2 separate regions of the Homo sapiens genome follow, and region 2 is linked to region 1. Evidence: promoter capture Hi-C in 16 types of primary human blood cells and fetal thymus (Javierre and others, 2016). All regions are on one chromosome and are shown on one strand. The core of a region is centred on a gene start or on the middle of the fragment in contact, and the rest is flanking DNA. Distances in the headings are between cores, read along the strand shown.

Region 1 (4,222 bases), core at 857-3,356:
CTCTTCCTGCTTCTAGAGGGGGAGGCTTCTCAACTTTTATTCTTGCCCTCTTAGTCTTCATATTTTCCTTGGTCAATCTCATTCACATCCCTGCAGGCAGCACAGATTGACTTCCTGGTGTCACTTTTGATTCTCAGGGACCCAGCCAGAAAGCCTCGTTGAGGCTGCCTTCAGCACACACCGGACAGGTTTGCCCTTCCCACGCCTCCTGCCCTGGCCTGCGCTCCTGCAGCCTTTTCCCTGATGACCTCAGGGTCTCTGCACGGGCTCCCCCTCCTCACCTGACTCCTCCAGCCCGATCTCAATGCAGTGGTCAGAGTCAGCCATTTACAGTGTGGGTGGTGCCATGCCACTGCCGTCAGAGTGAAAGCCAACGTCCTCACCATGGTCCTCACCACCTCAGGCTCTGAGTGGGCTCCTTCTGCTCTTGGTTGTCACTGTCTCCTGCCACTCCCTATCACTCTGCTGCAGCCAGCCTTGCCCCAACCCCCTGACCCCCTTCTTGCACTCCCCAGCCTGCAGCCTTTGCACCTCATTTTCTCTCCACCTACGTGTGTCCGACAGACAGCCACAGGCTAACTCACATCTTCTTTGAGACTCTGCCCTGGTGTCGCCTCCTCTCTGGCACATCCCCACCACCACCCCCCAGCCCACCCTGACCTTCTGTTCCCATCCACTCACCACCTTCCACACTCTAAATAATTTCCTTACATATCATGGGTATTATTTATTTTTCTGACTTATTTCCTGCCTTCACTAGAATTTACATTTCATGAAGGCAAGAGTTTGGGACTGTTTTTTTCTCCTGATTTATCTCAATTGCCTGAAACAATGACTGGCACATATTAGACACTTAATAAACCTTGGACCGACCCCCTACACATCTTGACATCTGACCTCAGTCTCTGGTGGGCGTTCTGGATGTCAGGGGTACTCCTGGAGCTCTCTACAGGGTGTCCCATAGGCGCTGCAAGCCCAGCATGCCCCAAACTAAGCCCCTCATCTTCCTCTCTCTCCTCAAGTGCACTTTCCCCCTCTGCAGGGAAACCCTAATGAAAGCAGAAGCCTGGAGGCACCCTGAAATTCCTCATCTCTGGGAGCAGCTAACAGTAGCATCGGGAGCTCAAGTGAGCCCATCAGGAAGAAGCTACGTCTGAGGCAAGTCCTGAAGGGCAACTGGCAGGGCAGCAGTGGGGACTGAATCAGCACGGTGCTCTCATGGCACTGAAGAGGTGCCTCCTGCAGCAGCCAGGGATTCCAGGAGGGGCAGGAGCAAGAGAGGCAGTGAGGCCATAGAGAGGCTGACTCAGGAGCAAGGGGCTTATGCTAAGAACATGCAATGGACGTGGCCAGGAGAGAGGTCTGCGTGTCATTCCCTGAATGTCATTCCCTGCTACTGGGATGATGGATCAGACAGAGTCAGGAGAGACTGGAGGAAGACCAGTGAGAGAGCGGTGACAATAATCCAGCCTGGGAGGGACGGAACCTGAACAAGGACAGGGTGGATGGCAGCCCATGAACGTGGAGACAGCAGACCTGATTCTGGAGGCATTTAAGATGTGGGGCAGAAGGACTCAGGCGTGCTCGGGTGTGGAGGGAGGGGAGGGGAAGGGTCCACACGGGAGCTCAGTGGGGCATCCGGGGGGCGTGGGCAGCCGCACCACTCCCTGAGAGGAAGAGCACAGGGGCAGGGGCTCCATGGCCAGGGGAGGTCTTGAGTCATTGGCTGGACACAGGAGTTAGTTCTGCAGAGGGATCGGGGCAGCCTGGGAGTCGTCAGCTGGAAGTGACTACAGGAACCGCAGGGGCGGGTACATTGTTCTGAGTGTGGACGGTGGGGACGGAAGGCTGGGGCCACAGCGCCAGACACTGAAGGAAAGGGGAGCAGAACAAGAGCCAAAATGTGGGCCCAGAAATGAGCAGAACGTCGCTGGCTTCTGGGGACAGCTAGTCCCCGAGGTGCACAGCGACAGAAGCCGCATGGCAGTGGGAGGAGGGAGTATAACTGCCTGTGAGTCTTTATGTATGGGAGGAAGAGACCTCATCAGAGGCATTCGTGGGAATGTGCACCCCAAGAAGACAGGGGACATGGGGACCCAGAGGTATCTGAGTAGGAGCAGAGACACATCATTGCCTGCCTCGCGCCCTGCCCTGCAGCTGCAATCAGGTAAGCAGTGGGCAGACGGGGCAGGTGCTCCCAGAGAGAGGGGCCATGCTGCGAGCAGGGTGCATCTTGCACTGTCCACAGGGTGCATTGTGAGTGCAGGACCTTGAACGGTGTTGCCTCAGATCTTCCAGCTTTTCAAAAGAAACCAGATATTGGTGCCTCTGTGTGAAATGTTCTGATTTTCAAAAACAAAGGTCAAAGTGAAAGTTTTAGAGAATTGTCCTTCTGAAACGTGCAGGATAAATGACATCCCAATATACCCAATATACAGGCGTGTGAGGAACTGGCTTGAGAGGTGCTCAGAAGCCACTGGAATTCTCGGTCTGCCCCACCATAAAATCTGTCTCCCTATTTATGTTTAAGAAGCGGTGGCTCATGCCTGTAATTCCAGCACTTTGGCAGGCTGAGGTGGGCGGATCACCGGAAGTCAAGAGTTCGAGACCAGCCTGGCCAACATGGCGAAATCCCGTCTCTACTAAAACAGACACAAAAATGAGCTGGGCACCTGTAATCCCAGCTACACGGGAGGCTGAGGTGGGAGAATCGCTTGAACCCAGCAGGCGGAGGTTGCGGTGAGCCGAGATCATGCCACTGCACTCCAGCCTGGGCAACAGAGTGAGACTCTGTCTCAAAAAAAAAGAAAAGTCACAAATAATCTTTAATTGGATTATTCTTTAAAAATCAGTGCTGAAAGGAAATCAACGAGCAGGCTATGCGTGTCGGGCCCACGGGCTTCCAGCTTGGGCTCTACCCTGTCGTGTCCACAGAACAGCAGCTTAGGAGAGGCTGGAGGACCGGCAGGCATCGCAGGCTCTGTCCATCTGAAATGCACTTTCTGATGTAACATATGAAGAACAGACCCGGTTGGTTTTTAGCATGGGTTTAATGAACTATCCTGACATCATGTTTAACACAATCCAGGCTTTCCTTGCTAATAGTATCACAGAAATCCTCAGCTCTGATGTAGGGCTTTCTATACTTTCTCTATGCTGTTCCATTGACTTTATGGTGGTGCTCGTTATCTTTAGTATTTATTTTATTAAATTATTATTTTATTTTTATTGTAGTTTTTCTATCCAAAATAGAAACGCCTCTTCATTAACCTGCTTCTCTTTTCTTCTTCCTGAATTATTTTAGCTATTCTCATCTGTTTATATTTCCAGATGATTTCAAGAATTATTTCATCCTGTTTCAAGAAAAATATAATTTGGTGAGATTTCAAATAGAATTGAGTTAAATTTCAAAATTGATTTGGAGATACTGACATTTTTACAATATACTTTTTTGAATCTAAGAATATTCTAATTAGTCATTGTTGGTATACAGGAAGACTACATTTTTGATATTCATTTTGAAATCCCTTAATTATAATAGTGTAGCAGATTTTTCAGCTTAAAAGTCCTGCCATCTGGAAATAATGATAATTTTGTCTACTTCTTTATTCTGTTCTGTGGTAGCTAGTACAATGGCACATTGTTACGTAGCAGTAGTTACAACAAAGAGCCCTGTCTTAATCCTGACCTTGGTGGAGCAGGAATGATCCTGGTATTTAGCTGTGGGGATGCTGTAGGCTGTTGGTTGAGGCTGGTATTATTTATCATGTTAGGAAAAATCACTTCTTTGGGGATGACAGATGCATGAAAGTTTTGGGAGAGTTTTTAATCAAAGCCTTTTAGCATTAGCTAGACTTCAAATGTGATCCTTTCAGCAGATTTGCTAACCTCGAAGTCTCTTTGCACCGCTGAAATAATCACGCTAGTGCCACGTGAGCTCTTTTAAAGTGCTGCTGGGTCCTAATTGCTGACATTTTATTTGAGTTTTTTAAGTATAGTAAAAAAGAAAAAAATAATCGATACATAGTTTTTCTTCCCTGAAATCTTCATCAGGCTTTCGTATCAGGAATTTGCTATTTTGTAAAATGAATTGGGACTTTCCCATGCTCTCTAAGGGTTTACCTAATGTAGGAAAGATCTGCTCCTGGCATAGCTAGAAGCTGGGCACAGGCAAAGTATCTGGGCCTGTCGGTTTTCTCTGAAGCAATTTTAACATCATGAT
Region 2 (4,222 bases), core at 1,031-3,530, 1.0 Mb after region 1:
CCATGGCTGGAGCAGGAGCAAGAGATGGGAAAGGGGCCACACACTTTGAAACAGCCAGATCCATGAGAGCTCATTCATTCACTCCACAGTACCGAGCGGGGATGGAGCTAAGCCATTCACGGAACTCGGCCCCCGTGATCTGATCACCTCCCACCAGGTCCCAGCTCCAACACTGGAGATGACAATTCAATGTGAGATTTGGCAGGGGCACAGACGCAAACCATATTCTATTCACAAACCAGTTACCAGGAAATTCATTCTAAATCTAGACTTCCTCTGTATTGTACCATCACAAAACCGAGTTTTAGTCAAAGCCAAGTTTGGTGGGCAGGTGGAGGAGGTTCCCATGATACTAGGAAGTTTGTTCCAGTAGTCCCAAGAACCATGCAAATCAAAAAAGCTGCGACAGGAAAATAGGTTTGTTATATCGTCTGTTTTAGGAAGACGTGTCTTCATGCAAAGTGTAAGCTCTGCGTGCACTGGAGGGTGGCTCCCCACTGCCAGTGACAGTCATGAAGAAGGAACATACGATTCGGGGCTAACAAACTCCTCACATCCAAACAGCAAGGCACACTGATTTTGAAAAGGAACATGGCCAAAGGCATTCTTTTGCCATGAAAAGTGTATTTCCAAGGAAAATGAGGGGCCCATTCGATTCTCTTTAAAGCACACACAGAAGTTGACTTTGTAAACAGATTTGAGCCCCTACACCTGCAACCTGTTTGAGTGAGAACGTCCTCATGAGCCTGTCGGCTTCCTACTATCCCACCCAGACAGCTTTCAGGAAAATGTTTAAAATCAAGATTGATGGAGTGATTAAAATGGGATGTATTTTTTTCTAGCAGAGAGCACCCTCCGGAATCACTACACCCGGAGATGAGAGGCTAGTGACAGACCCAACACAGGGCCCATATGGTGACAGTGGCAGTCTTGCCACTACCTTCGGTGAGTGCTCACGTGTGGGGCCTGGCGTCGACATGACTCAAATGTAAACCTTCCCAGGTTGCCATGACACTGGTGGGAGTGGGTGCCCTGAGGCTGGTGGAGGCGGGGAGGGTGGTTGACTTAACATTGATAAATGTGACTAAATAGAAATGTGAAAACTTCTAGGGCGATTTAATAACCCCAGTCTCAATGAATGGAACGTACCAAACCAAGACAGCCAGGGCCAGTGTTGACAATCTGTGCAATGATCGTAGAAATTTTTTAAAAACCATGGACAAATCCCAAAAGATGAGACACAACTGTGTGATAAACATACAGAAAACTAACAAGCTTTGTCTGTAGTTCTTAAAATTACAAGTAGCCGGGTACAGTGGCTCACGCCTATAATCCAGTACTTTGGGAGGCCAAACCGGGAGGATTGCTTCAGTCCAGGAGTTCAAGACCATCCTGGGCAACATGGTGACACTCTTACAAAAAATTTTTTTAAAAAATGAGCCGGGCATGGTGGTGCACACCCGTGGTCCCAGCTACTCAGGAGACTGAGGTGGGAGGATCGCTTGAGCCCAGAAAGTCGAGGCTTCAGTGAGCTGTGATCATGCCACTGCACTCCAGCCTGGGTGACAGAGTGAGACCCTGTCTCAAAAAATAAACAAAATAAAAATTGCAAGCAAAAGTAAAAGAGAAAAACGATTTGGGGCCTGTATATATTTCAACAATCTATCCCGTTAAATGCTGGGGAGGGTGTGTGGACACGAACGGCCCTCAGCACCATGGCTGGGGGACCGTCACCACGAGAGGCTGCAGAGCCCTTCAGAGCCTTGCAAACGGCTGTGCCCGGACCTGATTACACTTCTGGGCACCTGTGCCCAGGACACAAACCTAGTTACGGAAAACCTCTTGTGTCCAAAGACGCTCATTTCAGCATTATTGAATGAACAACTGGAAACACCTGGGAATATTTAACAGCTGGGAACTGGATGGTACTTAGGTGCTGGGTGAGTGGGCAGCGTCTGCGGCGGGCGACTGACCAAGGCCGCCCTGGGAGGCGAGACTCACAGAGGGCCGGCCACCCGTGGACCCTGCCTGTGTTAAGACAGTGTGAGGGAAAAGCAAACAAAAACCCAGCCATGCCTTCCGAGGAGTCTGCGGGGACAGGGGCTGAAATTTTCGAGCATCCTCTTCCAGATCTAGACTGTGGATCCCTAGGTTTCCCCTTTTCTGACGTCAGGAGTACACACCACCCTTAATTCATGGTATTCACATTCCTGAGAATCGACTTTAAAGCTGCCCTCCCTGCCTCGGCCACAGAACACGGTTTCCTCAAGGAATCAATAGCTGCCCCAAAGAAAAAGGTAAAATGCAGGGACAGTATTTTCTAGCACATTCCTCTGAGCTCCCTCACCCCCCATCCCAAAGGACATCCGGTCCCCATTCCCCCATGTGCAGAACACACCCAGAGGAGGCCTTGGCCTTAGTCAGGTGGGCAAAGCATCTCTCTCCCTGGGGGCTGTGTCTGTCTGGCCAGGCCGGCCAGGGCAGCCCTTGCCACCAGAGAGTCAGTAAAGCCACTTGGAGCCTCCAGTCATTTACAGTAAGAATGCCAGGCCCCAGGCATGAGGGTGACGCGGGCTGAACCACCTCACCTGACCTGCCACTCTTCCAGATGGGACTGTCCTGAGAATGGCATCAGGCAATGAGTATAAAGGCACTAAGTTCAGTTTCTGGCCACAAATGGCTATTGTCACTGTTGTTATGGACGCCACAATGCGTGCTTTGTTCTACAAAGTCCTTGTTTGGAAGATAGTTAACAGCAGTCTTAGGGGAGCCCCCGGGGGCCACTGAGATGCACCCCCAGCGCCCCTGCCAGACTGAGGCCACTTTCTACTTCCCAGCTCAGCCTCGGACTCAGCCTCCACCCCTTTCCAGAAACCACCCTCAGCTGGAGAGAGAGGGGTGCCTTCGGGGTAGCCCACACTTTAGGAGCAGTCCACGTGGGATTACAGAGGCCAGGCCCTCACTGTCATGCAGGGCAGGGCTGAGTCCATGGGGCCGGCTGAGGCCTCTGTTGAGACCGTGTCACGGCTCAGCACCTCCCTCTGCCCGGCTCTGCCACCTCCCTTCCTTCGCATGGGAGGAGCTCACCGGCACCCCCAGCGAACCCGGGGTCTCAGAGCCGCCTGCTGGAAGACCAAAACTGCACCATGAGAGAGGGGAGCAGAGGACACCCCCGTCCTTTTGGTGCCACAAATTCTAAGATAAATTTTAGAAAGGTGAAAACATGAGAAGTGCACATCTTGGACAAAAGAGCAGAATTATGAGCTCTCAGCTCAGTCAAGCTTCTTCATTTGCAAGGACAGAAACCCCCTGTGGCTGGGACCAAGGAGGATGGGGCGTTGAAAGACTGGGCATCTTGTGTCACTCCGGGCTTCACCTCGCCCAGCTCCCCCTGCCTCTGCCAGCCCTCCCAACTCCTCTGCCCTGGGCTCCTGCATTCCCCTACAGATCCTGGCAGAAACGGTCTCCCACACCCATATGCCCACTGCCACCGAACTGAGAGTCCTGCCTCGCGCCTTCTGCCCTCAAAAGAGAATCCGACTGGCATCTGTTCAGCTCTCCTCAGCCCACGCAGACACAGAACACATGCTTCACACAAGTGGGCCCACGGCTGTCTTGGAGACCAGCATCACGCTGACCGCCAGCATGGGAAAGCCAGCTCCATCCTGCCGGCTGGGCTCCTTGAAGGCACAAACCAGTTCCTGCCTCCAGGCCTTTGCACAGGCTGTTCCCCCGCCTGGAATACCTTTCCCCACCTGGTGACCTCCCCTTCATCCTGTGAGCCTGAAGGTCAGTGGGGCCTCCCTTCTAAGCCTCCCTCCCCCAGACACTCATCTCCCATCAGCAGCATACGGGGAGGAGGAGGAAAGGCTTCCTCCGCCTCAAGAGACACAGAGGTGGCCGGGGAGGCCTGGCCTGTCTGCAGAGTCTCAGCACAGCATGTGCCTCCTCCAGACAGTGACCTACAGCCTGAGTCCCGCCCTCCGTTTTCCTCTGCAAGCTGCATGCCAGCCTCTCTCAGGGTAGACTTGAGTATGGACGTTCATGAGGCCTCATGGCCAGTTCACTTCTCAGTAGGGGGAGATCAGCTATGGGTCCAGAAGGCTCCATTACCCTGAGGACCAGAGGTGGCTCCCAGTGCTCTGAGTCTGTAAGGGAGTAACCGGGAGGGTGATGGATGGGCAGGTACTTCAAGGCCTGAGGCTGAGCCTGATGGTCCCCG

Evidence for each region. The method cuts DNA at HindIII sites, captures the fragments that hold promoters and counts their contacts. A CHiCAGO score of 5 or more calls a contact.
Region 2: a fragment that was not itself captured here is called in contact with the fragment with the promoter of OR6B3 in region 1 in 7 of 17 cell types (M0 macrophages, M1 macrophages, naive B cells and 4 more); the score reaches 10.5 in M0 macrophages.

Annotation. Positions count from the first base shown.
Region 1 is chr2:240,051,405-240,055,626 of GRCh38, reverse strand. It overlaps OR6B3 (olfactory receptor family 6 subfamily B member 3), which reads left to right and starts at 2,106. Exons shown (of 3, transcript NM_173351.2): 1 at 2,106-2,167. RefSeq lists enhancers at 1-151, 152-794. The HindIII fragment of the contact is 11,088 bases long and covers 1-4,222 here.
Region 2 is chr2:239,039,021-239,043,242 of GRCh38, reverse strand. No RefSeq gene overlaps it. Among named protein-coding and RNA genes, the nearest start is that of MIR4440, 28 kb to the left of the region's middle. The HindIII fragment of the contact is 2,006 bases long and covers 1,278-3,283 here.